Linked DNA regions of Homo sapiens: region 1 is linked to region 2. Evidence: promoter capture Hi-C in human tissues and cell types (Jung and others, 2019). All regions are on one chromosome and are shown on one strand. The core of a region is centred on a gene start or on the middle of the fragment in contact, and the rest is flanking DNA. Distances in the headings are between cores, read along the strand shown. Region 1 overlaps PLA2G4A (phospholipase A2 group IVA). Region 2 holds the start of PDC (phosducin).

Region 1 (5,982 bases), core at 403-2,902, 450 kb before region 2:
ACACCCTGGGCCTGGTAGTTAAACATCAACCCCTGACCTAATCAGTTATGTTATCTATAGATTACAGATATTGCATAGAAAAGCACTGTGAAAATCCCTGTCCTATTCTGTTCTGTTCTAATTACTGGTGCATGCAGCCCCCAGTCATGTACCCCCTGCTTGCTCAAATGATCACGACCCTCTCAAGCTGACCCCCTTAGAGTTGTGAGCCCTTAAAAGGGATAGGAATTACTCACTCAGGGAGCTCGGCTCTTGAGACAGGAGTCTTGCCGATGCTCCCGGCCAAACAAACCCCTTCCTTCTTTAACTCGGTGTCTGAGGGGTTTTTGTCTGTGGCTTGTCCTGCTACACTAGCACTTTGGCAGGCAGAGGTGGAAGTGTTGCTTGAGCTCAGGAGTTTGAGACCAACCTGGGCAATATAGCAAGATCCCCATCTCTAGAAAGAAAAAAACATATATATATAAATTTTCTGGGTGTAGTGGCATGCACGCATAGTCCTGGCTACTTAGGAGACTGAGGCAAGAGGATCACTTAAGCCCAGGAGTTTGATGATGCAGTGAGCTATGATTGTGCTACTGCACTCCTGCCTGGGCAACAAAGCAAAACCCTGTCTCAAAAAAAAAACACAAAAAAACAAAACAAAACAAAAGATGCAGGATTGAAGAGAAGCCTCTCTTTTTAAAATAAACTTTAATGAAGGTTTCCTTAGTTTCCTTTAAGCAAAAATTCCCCTTAAGCAGCATCTCATCTTAGAGTCTGCTCCCATAACAACACAAGTCACTATAGCATCAGTAGGTTGGCTTTTGAACCCTACCCCCACCTAAAACATATTTGCAAATCTGCAACCACATGTGGGACAGGGGTGATCATTTGGCTCCCTTACTCAGAATTTATGTCTCATTTCCAACTGTATCCTGCCCTTAATTTGCAATAATCTCAAATTCCTACAAGAATGAATTCCAAGAAATTAATTTATTTATGAAATTATTTTATGAAAAACTTAATGAAATTAATTCCTACGAGAAATAATTCAAGAGTGTACAAGACTATGCACATATATGTTTACTTATGTATTTAAAATATTATTTTTATGAAAATAAATTATATTCATTTGACATATTCAATTAACAAGAAAGCTCAACTAAATAAATAAGTAAATAATTACCTGATACGTCACTAACAAGAAACTTCATTATCATTTGATGAGCATCATTGTGGCAATTAATCTTTGTAGATTTCAGATAGAAAGATGGACAGATATATAAAGAGAGAAATAGATAAGCAGATTAGATAGGTGATTGATGGATACATAGATGAAATAAATGAATGGATAGATAGCCAAAAAGTAGATTTTAAGATATATGATTGAGTAATAAAGGATATTACATTTTACTGGAATTTAAGGAAAGAAAAAAACTATAATTGAAGGATTTTACTTTCAATATTTGTTTATATTTATATTCCAGTATTTCTCCATAATTAGGATTATAAATCATTTCTTCAACTTAATGATTTTTATAATCCTAATTATAGAGAAATATAGAATACAAATATATTATAAACAAATATTGAAAGTACGATCCTTCAATTTGGTCAATTTTAAATATTGTTTAACTCTACTACAAAATATAAAGAATTTGGAATATTTTCTTTTTTCTCCCCATCACATTTGCCTGCATTTATTAATTCCATTATCATTAACAAGATTTATGGCATTTTCTTCTTGTTCGATAATGATGATTTCCACAGTTTAATTTTAGCCTACATTTAAATTAAGTAATTTTAATCCTTTTATATTTGAGGCTAAACTTTTCCTATTGATAAAATCAACACTCCTTTATGCGTAAGTATGCCTTATATATATATTATATACAAATACATACATACACTTATATTAGATACATATATATGTATATATATATATACATATATATATAAGTATACATATATATATACTTATGTATATATATACATATATATGTATATATATGTATATATAAATATACATATATATGAATAAGTAAATAAAATGTGGTACATCCAGACAATGGAATATTATTTAGTACTAAAATGAAATGTGCTATCCAAACCATGAAAAGACATGGAGGAAACTTATATTCGTATTACTAAGTGAAAGAAGCCTATCTGGAAAGGCTACATACTGTATGATTCCAACTATACTACATTAGGCAAACTAACAAAAGGCAAAGCTATGGAGACAGTAAAAGTATCAGTGGTGCAGGGGTAGGGAGGAGAGATGATAGGTGGAGCACAGAGGATTTCTAGGACAGTGAACTACTGTGTATGATACTATAATGGTGGATGCATGTCATTACACATTTGTCCAAACCCCATAAAATGTAGACCACCAACAGTGAGCCTAGCGTAAACTATGGACTTGGATGATAATGATGTGTCAATGTGGGTTCACTGATTGTAACAAATGTACCACTCTGGTGTGGGATGTTGATAGTTAGGGAGTATAATGGTTAATTTTCTTTATTAGCCTGACCAGACTAAAGGATACTCAGATCACTAGAAAAACATTCTTTCTGGGGGTGCTAATGAGGGTGTTTTCCAAAGAAAAACAAGTGAATCAGCACACTGAGTAAAGACCCACCCTTGCCAATGGGTGCGCACATCATTCCATCCTTGGAGGGCCTGAGGAGAACAGAAAGGTGGAAGGTGGGCAATTGTCTCTCTGTCCTTGAACTGAGACATCCCTTTTCTCCTGCCTTTAGACATTGTTGCTCCGGGTTCTCCTACTTTCAGACTTCAAGACTCCCACCTCCCCCTCCAACTGCCCAGCCTCTGACTGGGAGTTACTCCACTGGTGCACCTTTGTCTTGGACTAAATTGCACCACGGGCTTTCCTGGTTCTTCAGCTTGCAGAAAGCATATCGTGGGACTGCTTGGCCTCCATAATCATGTGAGCCAAACTTCATAATAAATCTCCTCATATCTACTGTGTATATCTTTTGGTTCTGTTTCTCTGGAGAACCTGACTAAACTTGGGAGGTTGTGCAGGGAGAAGAAGCATATTGGAACTCTCTGTGCTTTTGGCTCAATTTTATTGTGAACTTAACACTGCTCTAAAATATAAAGTAAAAATAAAACTAAAAACTATAGCTGATAAATATTACCAGCTAGGGCACCATTTGTGATGACCTTCCTCAAAGAGTTTTCATTTACAAATCACTTACCTTACCTTAAAAAACTAAAGGAATAATGCTCAATCTCAATATTGCCATATTTGGGTAAAATTATTGGGGAAATTGTCCAAGCTAAATTATTATTAAAGTATAGTAACACTTGAAAAATTTCCAACTCACATCACGTGCAGAATGCAATCCTTCACTATTCTTTGGACCCAAGAGTTTCTTCATGCTCTCCCTTATGTGTTCTTTTCTCTGTTGTCTGAAAGTCTTCTCCTGATCACACAGAGCCATACTAAATCGTAGGTCTGGGCATGAGCTGTAATACCAAACAGATAAAGTCATGAGCCAGTGCTCCCAGTGGTCTGGTTTTCCATCCAGGTAGCTTTTCCAGGTCCCTAGGAGCTACACTGATATATGCTGACTGCTTCCCTCAAGCCATTTCCTAAGAAGGGACCTAAAATAAGAGGATAAAATGATGGCTATCTTAAAGCAGCATTTTCCACAGCATGTTTTCAGAGAAAAAGGACTTTCCAATGCTTTAGATAAAATAAACGAGCAAACAAACAGCCTCTGATAAGTTGAATATTATAACAAAGACTTGGAAGGGCTTCAGTAAAGAACCCTGTTTATATTTGTTTGGCACAGGATATCCCAAACTTACTTGACCAAGAATTCCTTCCCTTATCTCTCCACCCTTCACTATTCCACCATCATAATTACTTTCTAACATCCCAAAGAGCCAGCATTCTGAGGAACATACTTGCAGAAATATTGTCTTAATTAATTGCCTTGTCTAATGGATGCCCCCCTCTAACAAAGAAAGGAACTTCTAATCACAGAACTTGAGATAACCATAAATGAGTTTACCACTAGAGGACTTTAGAACCCTTAAATTATATATACTTTATCTTGCTAATGAAGGCAGTAGCAATTTCTCTACACTATGCCAGAAGTCACATTAGGTATTACGTATGAATCATTGCAAGAACGATGGGAGTATCACTACATATTATTATACAATATATTATTATATATTGCAGCTTTATAAATTAGAAAACTAATGCCCTGAGAGGTTAGGATCACAGAGTAAACATGTGATGTACTTTCACCATGCAACATATAAGACATATCTTAATACTGAAGTCTAAATACCAACTACTGAATTTAAAAATACTTTTTAAAAATCTGTCAGCCTATGTTGGAGTGTGAATAAATCCAAAAAGCAGAAGTCAAGAATTATCACCAATAAAATATTTGTCTCTTTACCATTCATAAAAATCCTTACCTTAATTGTAAATCAATTTTAAATCTCATTTCTGTTAGTTCAGTATATTTTTTCCTTGTAAAATACAGAAAGAGACCAAGCCTCTGAGCTATGTTCTTTATGGCTATATTTGACCATTACAAATAATAGTTTAATTACTACTTCCCAAAGGACAAATATAGGTACCTCACAAAAGAGAAAGCAGAATTAATAACAAAAAAGTTTAATTTCACTAGTGAATTTAAATGATACTGTTATTAAAATAATTGATATTAAAATATTTTAAATACTTATTTTCTAGTCCTAGAAAGGAAAAATAACACTAATATTCTCATGCATCCATTTTGGGAATATAAGTTTGTTAAAAAGCAATTAAGCAGTATTCAAATTTGGCATATTAGCAATATGGAATGTTCAAAAATAATTAGAACATAGATTCCTTTTGGCCTAATAATTCTACTTCTGGAAACCTATCTTAAGGGAAGTAACCAAAAACTTTTTAAAGATCATTTAAAGAAACGGTTGTTGAACTGTATATAAAAGTATTGGGTTATACAATTATTAAATATGATTTTGGAAATCATGTAACGGGGGAAAAGAGTAAGACAGTGAGTTAACTTTTTTTTTTTTTTTTTTTTTGAGACGGAGTTTCGCTCCTGTTGCCCAGGCTGGAGTGCAATGGCACAATCTCAGCTCACCACAACCTCCGCCTCCTGGGTTCCAGCGATTCTCCTGCCTCGGCCTCCCAAGTAGCTGGGATTACAGGCACGCACCAATACACCTGGCTAATTTTGTATTTTTAGTAGAGACAGGGTTTCTCCATGTTGGTCAACCTGGTCTGGAACTCCTGACCTCGGGTAATCAACCCACTTCAGCCTCCCAAAGTGCTGGGATTACAGGCATGAGCCACCACGCCCAGCCAAATGAACACTTTTAAGTCTAATCTTGGGCTACACTCTTTTCTATTACTATTCTTTATAATGACATATTAGGTTAGGTATCTTCTAAACACTATAAGAAATTAAAGGCCGGGCGCGGTGGCTCATGCCTGTAATCCCAGCACTTTGGGAGGCCGAGGCAGGCGGATCACGAGGTCAGGAAATCGAGACCATCCTAGCTAACACGGTGAAACCCCGTCTCTACTAAAAATAGAAAAAAATTAGCCGGGCGTGGTGGCTGGCGCCTGTAGTCCCAGCTACTCGGGAGGCTGAGGCAGGAGAATGGCGTGAACCTGGGAGGCAGAGCTTGCAGTGAGCCGAGATCGCGCCACTGCACTCCAGCCTGGGTGACAGGGCAAGACTCCGTCTCAAAAAAAAAAAAAAAAAAAAAAAGAAAAGAAAAGAAATTAAAATCTTACCTGTACAGTTGCCTCTATGACACCTCCTCAACTTTATTTCCTTTTCTGTTCCTTAAAGGTAATCACTACTTAAATTTAATCTTCATCATTCCATATATGTTTATAATTTTACAATATATATTTATGTCCCTAAATAAGGTTTTCATTTTGCAGGTTTTTAGTAATTAGTGCAAATTATTTTTTCCAGTGAACACTTTTTTTTG
Region 2 (6,098 bases), core at 1,535-4,034:
AACAGAACAAATAAGAAAATATATATTGAGGAAGCACAGGCTGTAAAGTAAAGGTGATATGGAAGGCCTTAGGAAGAGTATTAACTAGTGACAGAAGATCAGCCACGGCGGGAGGAGCAGGGTTGGGGGCAGGCAGTGCATGCGGTTAGTGGGATGGAAAGCCGCAATCTTGGTATTTGAGCCCTACTGGGAAGATCAACAGACCCCTCCCAGCTGCTAAGGTGTTTACTCCAGCATTGTATCCTCCAAGATTTTGAGCTGACATTCCATTCTCCTAGGACTAGAGTGTATAGCTGTCCTTGAACTCCTAAGGAATTCATGGTTTTCTTTCAATTCTGTCCTTACAATTAACTTTCTCACGCTCAAAAAGAAAAAAAAAAAGAGCAAGTAGATATATATGACAGCCTTGGAACCAGAAGAATCTACACTGAAGGCTGTTTAGGATTTAAAGAAAATTCTGTAATTTCATCTTTTTAGAGCAGGTAATTTAATCTGCCCTAAACAGGAGACTTTACTGGTTAACAGTGTGGACCATGGAATTAAGTCATACCTGAATTCGAACGCTGGGGTCTGCATGGACATAATGTCAACATTTGAAACATAAAAACTGTTTTCTTGCTGCTGTATATAGAAGTACCTTGTCCACAGAAGAGTGCTTTCACACAGTAGGCATTCCACTAATATTGGGGAATAAATGCATCAGTTAGATAAGTTATAAAACTTATCCAAGCCTGTCTCCTCATCTATAAAATTATACTTGACCTACCTCAGGGGATTGTTGTAAAGATTATGCGAAGTAAACAATTAGTACCTGACCTGGCATGATGAGCACTCAGAAAGTGTCCTAATTATTAATATTTTTATTTCTGTTTTCTAAGATTATTTTCAGCTGGTTTATAATGTTTGTGCCTTGTAAAGTATTTAGTATTCTTAAAATTGGATGTAAAATCATATATAAAAATCTAAACACTATATCAACATATAATTCTAATACTTTTAAATGTTTTTACATCAATCAAGAATCATATGTGTGAAATAATGACCTTTTGGGCTTTGACTCTTGACAAGTTTTCATGATCTACAAAAATTACTCAATTCATAATTGAAGCAATTAGATCAGATATGCTTGTCCAAATTGTAGGCAAGTGTGTGATGTCCGTAATGACCCCAAATCCCTCCAGTGAACAGGTGCCAGAGATAGCACAAAATAAAAAGCAAATTATGGAAATATCTGTGTTGGGAAGGTGGGGGTAGGATAGGAATTGCTATAGTAATTTTTTTTTTACCGTTAAGTCTCTATGCTTGTGCCTATATTACATATTTGAACATATGAGTACCAAGCTATATTTGACAGTAACTTAAAACATATTTTTTGAATGTTAAAACCACTATGACATTTTTTATCATCAAACTGAAATATTAAATTTCTTCACATTTGCCATCAGAAGGCATCTTTTAAGTTACATTTGTATTGCACCTGACTACATTCTAGATTCTTTAGCTAGAGAGAAAACACTCAGTTCATAAAAACTGAAAGTGAATTGCCCTGAGAAACTCTGTTGAAAAGCATATGTATAGCACACAAACTGGAACATGAAACCTGCTAAATGGGAGGTAAAAATTTGATTTAAGGATGAAAATGAAAGTTAATTTAGAAAATACTTTGATTTCTGGAAGAATCTCTTTGAAAATATTTATGGTTGTGACTCTCTTAAATATTGTAAATTTTATGTACTCTTCTCTATTCTTGAAATCAAATTCTACAATAAAAAATATATAAGCAAACAAAGTTCTGAAATGTGACAGGTTTCCCTCTTACTAACAAAGAGTAAATAAATGACAAATTAATTTAGTATAATAAAACATAACTATTAAAATTTATTTAGACACTATCACTGTTTAAATTGCATTAAGATCCACTTAAAGTTTCTGGGTGAAGCTACATATGACTAAACCTTATAATTTAAAAATCTAAATGTGTTCATTTTAATTGCCATTAATATTAAAAATTTTGTCCTCTTGCTAATTAAAAATTTCCAGTTTTAAGCTTAGAGTAAATTAAATCTCCTACTTTGGCAAAGTTAGATGAGAATTTGGCTGTGAGGATGAAAGATGTTAGGAAAAGATGGAAGATTAAACACATGCATCTACTTCCCCTACATCTCAAAACTCCATTAAAAAACAGCAGGAAAGGAATTTTTAATGGTAAAAACCAGAAACAATAAGGAGAAGTGAAAAGGAGAAAATGCCAATAAAACTAGAATCCAGAAAGCAAGTAGATCTGTAAAGACAGCCCATCTGAAAAAATTGTATTAAAAGCCTGTAGTAAGAGAAGATGAAAATCATAGTATCTCTCTTATTCCTCCCAATGTTGTAGTAATCATAGCACTTCATTGTGATTATCTTTTTACTTACCTGTCTCCCCCACTAGACTGCAAGCCTCACGATATAGGAAATAGGGTTTATTTGTCTTTGTACCCTAGTGCCTAGCTACTGCTTGTTTCACACAAAGTAGGTGCTCAGTAGATGATTATGGGACTAATGAATACAACTCATGTTATTGCGATAAATAGTACTAATAATGACCTCTGTCTCTCATCTATTCAATGTGTTCTGTAAAATATAAACTGACTACTCTTTGTTTGGTTTTGCCTTATTATTAATGAACTGGCCTTGCTAATTCTGTCAATCCTATTACTTGTTCAGAGCTATTTCTGCAAGGGTCATCAATATCTGGAGATTTTAAATCTGAGCTTAAACCTATTGAAGTTCAAGACGAGTTCAGTAGACAGGGATTCTCACCCACTCAACAAGGACACCAGGCACAGAGATCCAAACTGTGAGTCCACAAGTAGTCCTTTTGATAATATAATTTTAAAAATTTTACCTTAGGGGAAAGAATGGTGATTCACTGTTTATGTATTATTGTGTTAATGTAAAATAGTTCAAAGTACATAAGGTTTTGAATTATCTACTATAAAGACAATTAAATACAGCGTATCCTTCTCTCTTTCAGTGATTTCCACCAGTCATCTTCACTAATACAGATTCAGAGTAAACACGCAATTTTGAGCCTGATATTCTAGACTGTTAAAATAAGACCATGAATGGAGAACTCATTTTGCAATTTTAAATTTCCTTTGAGTGAAGGGAGAACTAAAGAGAATAAATGATGAGTCCTTGCACTTTATGTTTGAAGATCTGGCTCCCAAGTTGGAAAAGGAGTGCGGTAGTTGCCCCTTATCCAAGGGGGATATGTTCCAGGACCCCCACTGGATGCCTAAAACCATAGATAAAACTGAACCTTGTGTGTATACTATGTTGTTTTCCTGAACATACATACCTGTGATAAAGTTTAATTTATAAATTAGACACAGTCAGAGGTTAACCATAATCACTAATAATAAAATAGAACCTTTATAACAATATGCTACCATCACAACACTTGCGCTTTGGGACCTTATTAAGTAAATAAGGGTTACTTGAACACAAGCACTGCAATAGTCAATCTGATAACCAAGACAGTAATGCATATGGTGTGGATATGGTATACAAAGAGATGTTTCATGTTCCAGGCCAGAGAGAGCAGGATAGTGTGAGATTTCATCAAGCTACTCAGTACACTGCAAATCTAAAACTTGCAAATTGTTTATCTCTGGAATTTTTCATCTAATATTTTTGGACCAAGGTTGACCAAGGGTAACTGTAATCACAGAAAGAAAAACCTCAGATAAGTGAGGACTGCTGTATTCATCCGGCGCTAAGGCATGTTTTGAGGCTTTTCCTTAGTAGTATGTTGTTGTGGCGGTGGTTTGTTGGTGGTTTTTAATTTTTAAAGTAGAAATAATGTTTGTTTTGAAAGGTTACTTTAGAAATTTAATGAAACAGAAATAATGTTTTTAAAAGAAAAGAACACAGAGTTTGTTGATATTTCTTAAATTCAGTGAAAATTTTCTTTCAATTGGTTTTTTTTTTTCTATTTTGTTTCCATGGAGGTTATTATTATTACTAATAAACCTTACAGTTTGCATCATGAAAATGAGTGCAGTAATTGATTTGCAATGGAGTATTTTTATTAACTGCAAAAATAGCTTCTAACTATAGAGTCCATTTTAAATATATATATATATATATATATATATATACACACACACACATATTGTCCATTGTACCTGCTACTTAGAATCACCTCATATTAAAGCTAGAAAAAACTTTAGAGATCATCTAATTCATCATGACAATTTCTGCCCAAATACTATGTTTATAAGTGGATTTGATATTATATAAGTCATTATCAAAATATATATGAACCATTCATAATAATGTCTGTAATGGAATTCAAACAATATGTACAGGAATATGTATATTTACAAGATAAACAGATACTTTAAAAAAGATGGCTGTTATGAATTTCTAAAATTCTATTTTCTCCAGAACAAGTAAAAGAATATCTGTATGTCTGCAATCCCGGCACCTCGGGAGGCCAAGGCTGGCGGATCACTCGCGGTTAGGGGCTGGAGACCCGGCCAACACAGCGAAACCCCGTCTCCACCAAAACCAGTCAGGCGTGGCGGCGCGTGCCTGCAATCGCAGGCACTCGGCAGGCTTAGAGCTTGTTAAAGATTCCTGGGTCCCACTTCAGATCTGCAAAGCAGGATCTTAGAATCTAGGGCCTGAAAAGGAGGAAGGGTCCTGGTAAATATCCCCAGGCTTTCTTTTTCTTTTTTTCTTTTTTTGAGTTGGAGTCTCATTCTGTCCCCCAGGCTGGAGTGCAGTGGCGAGATGTCGGCTCACTGCAACCTGCGCCTCCCAGGTTCAAGCGATTCTCCTGCGTCAGCCTCCGGAGTATCTGGGACTACAGGCACCCACCACCACGCCCGGTTAATTTTTGTACTTTTTGTAGAGATGGGGTTTTGCCATGTTGCCCAGGCTGGTCTTGAATTCCTGCGCTCAAGTGATCCACCTGCCTTGGCCTCTCAAAGCGTTGGGATTACAGGCGTGAGCCACCGCGCGCAGCCTCTCCAGGCTTTCAGCTGGGACCATGAAGGGCTCCACTCTTTGTGGTGATGATCAGAGGGGCGTATGCCCTCCATAACACTCCCATTCTTCATCTTTTCTCATATTCCAGGAGACTGGCCCAAACAGGACTGTTGAGTGGCTCTAAGGCTTTTAGACGTCAAAAGGGTTTATAAGAATAATCATCATAATATAGTTATGAATCAGAAACATGCATACATTTTCTTAAATGACCCTGTGGGGACTGGAGTTAAAAAGGGAGGAGTACCCAGATGCAGGCGTCTAGCAGAATGGACTTGCTTGAGAATATCAAGCAAGACAGCCAAAGAGGACTCCTAGGATTGTCTCACCAGGACTTCTGAGGCGACTCTAATGAAATGACTTAAAAGTGTGGTGGAGTGGCTTCTGTGGCTCCCACACCTGCCTAATCCTGGTTGATATTGCACAACCAGCGTGCACTGACAATCTCTGGGAAAAAAGCAAGGTCTAATATTCAAAGCTTGGCAAACATGACCAAGACTTTTTCTCTTTCCTTTGAATTATTTTAGTTCCCTAATTTTTTGTCCCAGATGCCACTTAATTCTTTTTATTTTGTATTAAAAGTTGTGCTCTTGTCTCAACCTTCTTTCTAAAAAAAAAAAAAAAAAAAAAAAAAGAATATCTGTATGTCATAATAGCAAACTTGGATAGGTGGATGTCTTTTCACTAGGAACAAGAATTCAGTTATGACTTTTAAAGCTCATATTTCCAGAGTAAATTTTTTTTTACTGATGATACAGGATAACAGATAGGAAATTGATATTTGCTATGCATTCCTGACATACTAATTGTTTAAAAGGCTCCCTACAACTCCCCTGCCCAGTCCCATTTGTTGAAAAAGCAAAACTATTTGAGTAGGGTAGAAACAGAAAATATTACATCAGTTCTATAGTGTCTTATATCAAAATTTCTATCATAGTTTTTCTATCAAAGTTCTTATGAACTTTATCTAGATACTGGGAGTGGGGGGAAGTCAGGCATAAAGTAAGGAAAATTTTCAACAGCATCAGGATGAATGTTTTGTATTTAAAAGAAAGAAAACA

What was found. The method cuts DNA at HindIII sites, captures the fragments that hold promoters and counts their contacts. A contact is called where the count stands out against the background at its distance.
Region 1: a fragment that was not itself captured here is called in contact with the fragment with the promoter of PDC in region 2 in 1 of the 25 tissues and cell types used here (dorsolateral prefrontal cortex).

The regions. Positions count from the first base shown.
Region 1 is chr1:186,908,740-186,914,721 of GRCh38, reverse strand. PLA2G4A (phospholipase A2 group IVA) reads right to left here. Exons shown (of 18, transcript NM_024420.3): 7 at 3,333-3,474. Among named protein-coding and RNA genes, the nearest start is that of PLA2G4A, 83 kb to the right of the region's middle. The HindIII fragment of the contact is 6,671 bases long and covers 1-4,987 here.
Region 2 is chr1:186,457,800-186,463,897 of GRCh38, reverse strand. It overlaps PDC (phosducin), which reads left to right and starts at 2,784. Exons shown (of 4, transcript NM_002597.5): 1 at 2,784-2,839. The region is part of intron 3 of PDC-AS1 (PDC antisense RNA 1); the gene reads right to left. The HindIII fragment of the contact is 6,595 bases long and covers 362-6,098 here.